Regions from separate parts of the Homo sapiens genome. Here region 2 is linked to region 1. The links are contacts of gene promoters, found by promoter capture Hi-C in blood cells and fetal thymus (Javierre and others, 2016). All regions are on one chromosome and are shown on one strand. Each heading gives the region's core, a stretch centred on a gene start or on the middle of the fragment in contact. The rest is flanking DNA. Distances are from core to core; before and after follow the strand shown.

Evidence for each region. Contacts are between HindIII fragments. The CHiCAGO score rates a contact against its expected background, and 5 or more counts as called.
Region 2: a contact is called between a fragment that was not itself captured here and the fragment with the promoter of LSM8 in region 1, in 1 of 17 cell types (naive CD8 T cells). The highest score is 5.6, in naive CD8 T cells.

Annotation. Positions count from the first base shown.
Region 1 is chr7:118,181,715-118,185,869 of GRCh38, reverse strand. LSM8 (LSM8 homolog, U6 small nuclear RNA associated) reads right to left here and starts at 1,706. Exons shown (of 4, transcript NM_016200.5): 1 at 1,616-1,706; 2 at 176-216. The coding sequence starts at 1,646. It overlaps LOC105375470 (a long non-coding RNA gene), which reads left to right and starts at 1,902. Exons shown (of 4, transcript XR_927904.3): 1 at 1,902-1,955. The HindIII fragment of the contact is 4,305 bases long and covers 630-4,155 here.
Region 2 is chr7:121,384,599-121,388,753 of GRCh38, reverse strand. All of the region lies in intron 1 of FAM3C (FAM3 metabolism regulating signaling molecule C), which reads left to right. Among named protein-coding and RNA genes, the nearest start is that of FAM3C, 9.6 kb to the left of the region's middle. RefSeq lists a silencer at 3,257-3,454. The HindIII fragment of the contact is 1,003 bases long and covers 1,622-2,624 here.

The sequences.
Region 1 (4,155 bases), core at 457-2,956:
TGTTTATTAGTGAGGAAAACATGGATTGACAGCAAAGTGATAAAGAGCTGAATTATAATAAAATTGCACTACGGGTGTAATGTGCTGTCTAGGCATTAGAGATTAGAGGTTTCACATAAAACTTGCAACCAATAAACCTACAGGAAAGCAGAGAATGAAAATTCCAAAGACTTACCACAATCATTCTCCCATCTGATGTAATAACGGCAACAGTTCCTGATAACTGAATCAAAGAAAGTGTTTCTTAGGGAATGCAAATTGAAAACAGACTCTGGCAAGGGAATGATTTGAATTTTTAGAATAAATATGACAACTAGGTATAAGTATTCAACACAGCCACTAAGTTCACTACATAAAAACGTTAAAAGTTTCTTAGACGCCAAGGCAGGAGGATCACTTGAGGTGAGACCAGCTTGGGCAACACAGCGATACCCCCATCTCTATTACCCTGGCCTGGTGACCTATAGTCCCAGCTACTCAGGAGGCAGAGGCAGAGGCAGGAGGATTGCTTGGGCTCAGGAGTTCAAGGTTGCATTGAGCCATGATCAAGCCACTGCACTCCAGCCTGGGCAACAGAGTGAGACCCTCGACTCAAAAAAAGAAAAAAAAAAAAAAACTTAAAAAAAGCTTCTGTTTTTGTCTTTGTGATAATTACATGATTAAAAAAGGGAAAAAATAGAAAAAGAAAACCTCTTTCTGTATGTGATCGGTGTATCTTATCTCAAAATATCCTGGATTTTTGACACTTTTCTACTAGGAAGGTTACCAATCTATTATTTCAGGCAGGATATTTCGTTTCTTAGGCCTGTTTATTTCTAAAATGAAAAGTGGATGAGTACTAAATTAATCGATGTTGGACGATTTTCCAGCATGTTAAAAAACTGTCTTCCAGGACAGGCTTCTGTAATTCAAAAGTAAAGAAACTATATAAGCAGTGTCACAGGGTACCAATAACGCATCATTAAAAGCATTCGGTATTTAATTTTTGTCACCCAGTTTGTACCTGAGCTTAACGTAGTGTTTTTGTCCTAAGACTTTAAAACGGTAACACTTGTAAAGTCTATTTTAAGACTTCCCATGGGGTTGTTACTTGCTCCTCACTATAATCCATTACAACAGCAACCATTTTTTTTCATTCTACCAACAAGTTGGGACTTCAAGTGGTAAAGGGACAGAAACAGTCTGTGAACCATCGTTAAACTTTTTGCTATCCTCGAACGAGCAAATTATGTGAATAAAACAAGTACAAAGATTTGCAAAACTGTTGTCGCCGCCAGGACGACTGTTCATCTTATTCACAAACTTTAACACTTATGCCATAGGGAAATAGTAAGTAAGAATCAAGAGCGTACATTTTTTTTAAGACAGAAAAGTTCGGAATAATCACACTGGGTTTTTATTTGGGTTTTGCAGGCAAAATGGAAAGGACCCCTGGGCCCGCAGCAGCGGGAAGGCTCGAGGCGCCGCCGGCGAACTCTGGGTCGTTCCGGGGCCCTCATCTCCTCGCCCGCCCCCAGGATCCCGCCGAGGCCAGGCCTCCCAACCTCCCACCGATCCCCGACCGCGGCCTCTCCGCGACCCCGGCTCACGCCCGCGGCGGCCAGCTTGAGGATACGGTTGATGTAGTTCTCCAAAGCGGACGTCATGCTGTTCGGCCCGGCGGTTCCGGGTAACGCAGCGGTGCCGACAGCAAGCAGAACTGAAAGGGCGCGCCAGAACCCGGCAGCGGATAGCGCCTGCGGGTCGCAGCAAATATCGTGAGAGTTGCTGCTCCGCAGCCCTGTGAGTCGGAAATTGGGACGAACTGGCCAACCAAACAGAAGCCGCACAGCGGTGACGAGAGAGTGCGCGTGCGCAGTGTGTTTTCTCTGTAATTCTGGGCCGTGTTCCGGAAGCCTCGTAAGACAAAAGCGAACGAGAGGCGGAAAAAAGGAAGACGCTTCCTGAAGTTGGGGGTATGAGACAGAAGTTGGGGGTATGAGACAGAAGTTGGGGGAGAGTGGGTTTCCAATCCGAGTAAAAGGCAGTGTGGTGGAAGTTAACAAGAGAAAATGTTGAGACGAGGTAGAGCAGGCAGGAATAAACGAAGTAAGGTGTTTTTATTAGGAGTGAAGGAGAGAGACGAGTGCTGTTGTGTGAAACGTAGGTGCGGGTAGTTGAATCCCTAGTTTTCTGCAGCAGAAGCCGAAAATAACGCTAAAAATAAGTTCAGTTGCCCGGGACAGAGTTGCGCACGTTATAACCACACGGTGTACGCCTCTTAAGAACTCAGCAGTGAAATACACTTTCGTATGTTCTGCTTTTGTCTCTAAAAGTGTTCCAAAATGGAGGTGTTTTTACTTTTTAAAGAAACTAAATGCAAATAGGCAAAGGTGTGTGACCATCCCTTAGAAAACGAATGTCCACGCTTCTGCCACGCCAGGATGGTCTACCTTTCTTCAGGGTGAAATTAGTAAGTAAAAGGCTGCTGCAGCACCGAGAAAGGACCGATGCAGGAAGGATGCAGGAAGGCACCAAACTTGGTTCTAATCTTGGCTCTGCTAACAAATTGGTGTCATTGCACAGGTCACTTCAATTCTTCTGGGCCTCAGTTTCGTTAGATAGTCCCATAGGTATCATTTCAGATATTTCCCAATGCGATACTGTTCCCACTTCATTTACTGTTGCCCTAACTTGAGAGAGCTTGAAGTTAGAAAGAGATTTATACACAAAACACCAGCAGGAGCGATTTCCCTTTTTTGCAAAATATCTTTATAATTTCAGTTAAACATGTATTTTCTTAAGATTTGTGGCTTTGTAATAACTCTTGCAATGTCAGCAGTTTTCCTCGGAAAAGGAAGCATTTCTTAATTAGAGCATACCCACAAGATACTCCCAAATAGTTAATATTTTATATTCTGGAACTTATTCCTATCTGTTTGAAATCAAATGTAGTCAGGAATTAGATTGTGAATGTCTCATATTCTCAGGGTAACAAATGAAAGTGTCTTCCGCTAATGAAAGAACAAAGATAATTGTGTGATTTGCAAATGTTAGGTGTTGAACCAAAACCCAAAGACTAATTAATGATTAACGAGGTGTTAGGAGTTTTGTTAAAAAAAGAAATTGCTGGGCATGTTGGTGGGTTCCTGTAACCCCAGCTACTCTGGAGGGTGAGGCAGGAGAATTGCTTCAACCCGGGAGGCGGAGGTTACAGTGAGCTGAGATCACGCCATTCCACTCCAGCCTGGGCGACAAAAGCGAAACTCCATTTCAAAAACAAACAAACAAAAAAACCTCTGTGTGATCTTATAAAAATGAGGCCGGGTGCAGTTGCTAACATCTGTAATCCCAGCACTTTGGGAGGCCAAAGCGGGTGGATCACAAGGTCAAGAGATCAACACCATCCTGGCCAACGTGGTGAAACCCCCTCTCTACTAAAATACAAAGATTAGCCAGCATGGTGGCGGGCACCTGTAGTCCCATATACCAGGGAGGCAGAGGCAGGAGAACCACTAGAACCTGGGAGGTGAAGTTTGCGGTGAGCGAAGATTGTGCCACTGCATTCCAGCCTGGGCGACAGAGCGATACTCCATCTCAAAAAAAAAAAAAAAAAATGAATACTCCCTATGGCTTTTCATCCCTTAGAGTGTGCTTTTGTAAGTCTATTGCCCTGTGTAGTTGTCATTAAATTAATATGCCAGATAAATAACAGATGAACAGTGTTTATGGAGCATCACAAAATCTCTTTGGCTGGAAACTTTTTTACATGTGTCTTAAAATCGCTATATTTTCTGTAGTCTGTAAGGATCACAGATGTAGCGAGAAAACCTATGGATAAATAAAAGTCGGTTTACTAAGACAAAATGAATTACATCTGGATGCAAACATTACATATGTGATTTATCTATATTAGCCATGTACCCTTGGGAGTACATGAATGTAGAAACCTTAGCATCTCATAAAGAAGAATTACATTAAAGCTCCAATAAGGGAAAACTGATACACATAAACATCTGACTACTAAAAAATTAAGAGTTAACAGTGAAACTTGCCCCTTAAGTCGAAACCTCTCAAAGTAATGCTCATTTAAATGACATTATATCACTGATAAAGTATCAACCAAAGTATGCTTGTAATAGATAATTTTATTCCATTACTTCTGAATCTAAATCT
Region 2 (4,155 bases), core at 874-3,373, 3.2 Mb before region 1:
GATGTTCTCTTTTAAATGTAATTTCAATATGATGCTACTTAAGAAAATAAGAAAAGCCAGATGATGTTGATTCAGAAAACTGTCAAAAATCTAGGCATAGATCATCTGTATTCTTTTCCCAAGATTTTCAATAGAACATTAAACATTTATTTTAAAACTCTTATTGGTTCACTTGACCCATTGTTTATAAGTTTTTGGTCTGTTGCTTTTTGGGGGACACTTTGCAGAAGGAGTGGATACATTTACATCATAATCATTGGTGATCTTTTGAAAAATTTGTCATTCCTAGTATTATAGAATTCATATGGATCACCTCTCCCCACACCCCCAATTTTGTTTTTGTTCCTTTTTTTCCCTTTTCAAAATGTGAGTTTAGCTTGATTCTTTAAAAATCTGGGATACTTTTCTAGTTGCTGGTAGTCATGTAAAAATCTCCCTTTATTTGTGATCAAGTCATACCCACCTCTGAAGCTGTACAACAGGAGTGTGTGAGTGTGTGTGTGTGTGTGTGTGTGTGTTAAAATGGTGGTTTCTTTTAAAAGAGTGTACCTTCTAGGATTCGGTATCCTGCTAGTATTAAATACTTTCTCAAGTTAGTAACTAGATTTTTCTTTCAAGCCTTTAGTGTTAAAAACACCAAATTTTGTTAAATTTACAATATTTCTAACACAATGATAGCAGCTCAGATATCCTACTGAGTTTTTAAATGTTAATATTTTTTCAAATGAATGCAGTCATCTTATTCCTTTCCATTTTGTTATTTCAAAAATGTAGCCAGCTTTGCAAAGATGTGTGTATAGTTGCATTCAGGGGAGACAGGGTACTTGACAGCCGTCTGCATGTGCAATAGTAATAACTTGTTATTAAAGACAAGGTTTTTTAAAGCTAAATATTTGGAATTTTAGAAGTTTGTTAAGCATTAGATGCACATTTACTTCACTCTTTTTTTAAACCTATCATAAAAATAATCCCATATAAACACCCACATAAAGGAAATAGTAATGTAAGTTTTTTCCCAAGAACATAATTTTTATAGTTACTGAAGTGTAATATAGTGAGATTAATTTTTATTGGTTTCTTTACATTTCCTGGGATTGGTTTGGAAACATAACAGCATCTAGATTTGTTTCCACCTTTGCTATAGATGGATAGCTTCATCTACAGGATGGGAAGGACTTTTTTCTTCCTTTTGAAGAGGATCCATTCTGTTGTTTCTCATGGAATTATGCTTCTTTCTGTGGAGAGCAGATTATGAAAATGTTTGATGAACACGTGTGGAGCACAGAAATTAGGATTGTTTCATCTGTCCTACATCTGTAGTAGTACTTCTAAGAGGACCTGTCAAAGCCATGTGGAAGTTGTATGTCCTACACGTAGCCCAGCAAAAAAAGTTGGACTGTTAGAGCCTGGTTGGGAAAGATGTTTATTCCTTTATTTTTAAATTTTATATTTTTATTTCTTTTTATTAGGGGTTGACAAAGTACAACCCCTAGGCCTGTATGGCCCACAAGCCAAAACTGGTTTTCACATTTTTAAGTGGGTTGAAAAAAAATCAAAAGAATAATTTTGTGACACATGAACATTTTATGAAATTTAAATTTCAGTGTCTATAAAGAAAGCTTTATTAGAATATAATTAGACTCATTCGTTCACATGTTGGCTATGGTTGCTTTCTAGCTACAACTGCAGAGTGGCGTAATTGCAGTAGAGATTGTATGGTCCATAAAGCCTAAAAATATTTACCATCTGGCCCTTTTATAGAAAGAGTTTGCCAACAGTTGCCCTGTTTTACTCACATAAAAGTAGTTATTTATAGCAAACACAGTATTTTTTAAAAAATACCATGCTTTTGTTTGTAAATGCAACATCGGAGTAACCTACCCTAGTGACTCTTTGAGTTGTAGCATTCTTTTGATTTTAGTATTATCTCATTTTTCTCTTTTACTTTAAATGCTCTGGGGATAAAAATTTAATTTTTTACATTCTGTTCTTGAGGGGGTCTGTATTAGTCTGAGTTCTATAGAAAAACAGAACCAATTACATATATATATATATATATATGTGTGCGTGTGTGTGTGTATGTATAGATATAGCTCTAGATATATAGACATATATTCCTTATAATACATGTGGAGATAGCTTCATTTATATACAGGTATATGATTTGTATGTGCGTGTTTGTGTGTGTGTGTGTATATGTTTATTATAAGGGATTGGCTCATGAGATTATGAATGCTGAGAAGTCCAAGATCTGACAAGTTGGCAAGCTCTGACAGTCCAGGAGAATGAATGGTATAGTCTGGTCTGAGTCTGAAGGCATTGTCTCAGTTTAAAGATAGGCAAAGAAGGCGAATTCTCCCTTACTTATTAGAATCCCTTATTATTAGAATCATGGGAACTTTCTAAGTTGGTTGGGTTAAAATTGTCATTTGTCCAGCACTGAGTTGAAGTAGGATTGAATTGAATGATAGTTTCTCTATTTGTAGAGGATAACTTGTGGTATTTTCCTGTGGTTTAATTAAGTGCTGTTTGTTAATATTAAGTAGGTACATCAAAGGGTGTATTTGTACGTTTAATTTTCTTGTATCATTTCCATTTCAAGGAGGGGTTCCAATACCCAAGCTTAGTCATTTTGCCATACTGTTGAATTGCTGGAGTGGGTAGTTTGTAGCAATTCCCAAAGCAGTTTGCAAAAGCCAAGTTGATTGGCATGACATTTTGTCAACAAGCCTCTTATATTAGAGTGTGTCAGTGAACAGCTGGAGTGAAAAGGAAGTGGATTTGTTTGTAGCGTGAGCTTCTTACTTACCCTTCATGTGACCCTAGAGAAATCCCCTGATCTCATATATGCTGCTGTTTTAATGCCCCCAGCAACTAGAGGCTGGTGGGAAGATTACATAAAATAAGGGTGTGTGTGAATTGCACTGACATAAGTATGTATTCATACTTGGTTTATGTTAACTGGCAAGAAATCCCCCTCCTGGTAAATAATTTTTTATGACAATTTTGTCAATATAGAGTGATGTTTCTGTGGTTTATGTGATTTAGTCCACTTCCCAAGGAAATAATGGAAGTATCACTTGACCTTTGATTTTACTCTGTTGTTCCTGAAGTTAATTTATTCTAGAACAATGACTCCTTATTCACATAGTAGCTTGATTTCTACCTGAGTAATAAAACTTCACTAAATTAGATCAGAGTAGATAGTGGGGCCAAAGGAATGTTTAAATTGTCAACCATGTAAAGAAGTTTAGTACGTCCATCTGAGGCCCTAGTTCAGGCGCTCTTTCCAGCTGCAGTGTTTCATTGTCCAGCGACATTGTGGTGGCTGTCCTTGCTGTTGAATCTCAGGTGATTATGAACCTTACATATTAGCAACTGGATTTGGTTCAGTGACATATATTTATCAAAAACACTAAAACAAATTTTGGCCTATGTAACACTTTTTGGAGCAAATGTATAAATGTACTAAGTTGAGTTTTGGGGTTTTTTTTCCATCCTAAAAATATCCTTCTGTGACTCATTTTCTGGTTTTGGTAAGTGGCTCTAATATCTATATTTCTACCTTTTAATGAACATACTTATATATAAGCCCTTTCGCCTGTTGCCTCTAGATTTAGAGTTCTGAATTTCTAGCAAAGGCCTTTTTCTCCCTTTACTATTGTGCTCCTTTTCTCTGGACCTGTTCAATCCTTGTTTAATTATTGATGGTTTTCAGCCTGAAGTTTCCATTAAGTTTTTGCTTCCCTCACCCATACAAGATAATTGTATGTAAATATTTTCTTTGCTTTTACATGCCCCCTCTAAGAAGACAAATAGGAATGATTTAGAATTAGCACATTATCATCATACATAGATGCTCCTTGATTTGCTCTCAAATATATTCAATACTCCTATCCTGATGTAGATTCTTGAATCATTAATTTGCTTCTTAAGGAAATTAATTGAGGCATGTTATGGCTGAGATTTAATTTGATGAGATTTTAATTTAGAAATTTTACTAAATGTGAATTCTCTGAGACATTTTAATGGAAAACAGTTGTATTCAGCTAGACAATCATCATTGCTTATATTGTGGTCTTAGGGATGAGTTTAGAAACAGGTTTGTTGGGAGATACAAATGGGTGGCAGGTACATGCAGCATCCACTGCAAGG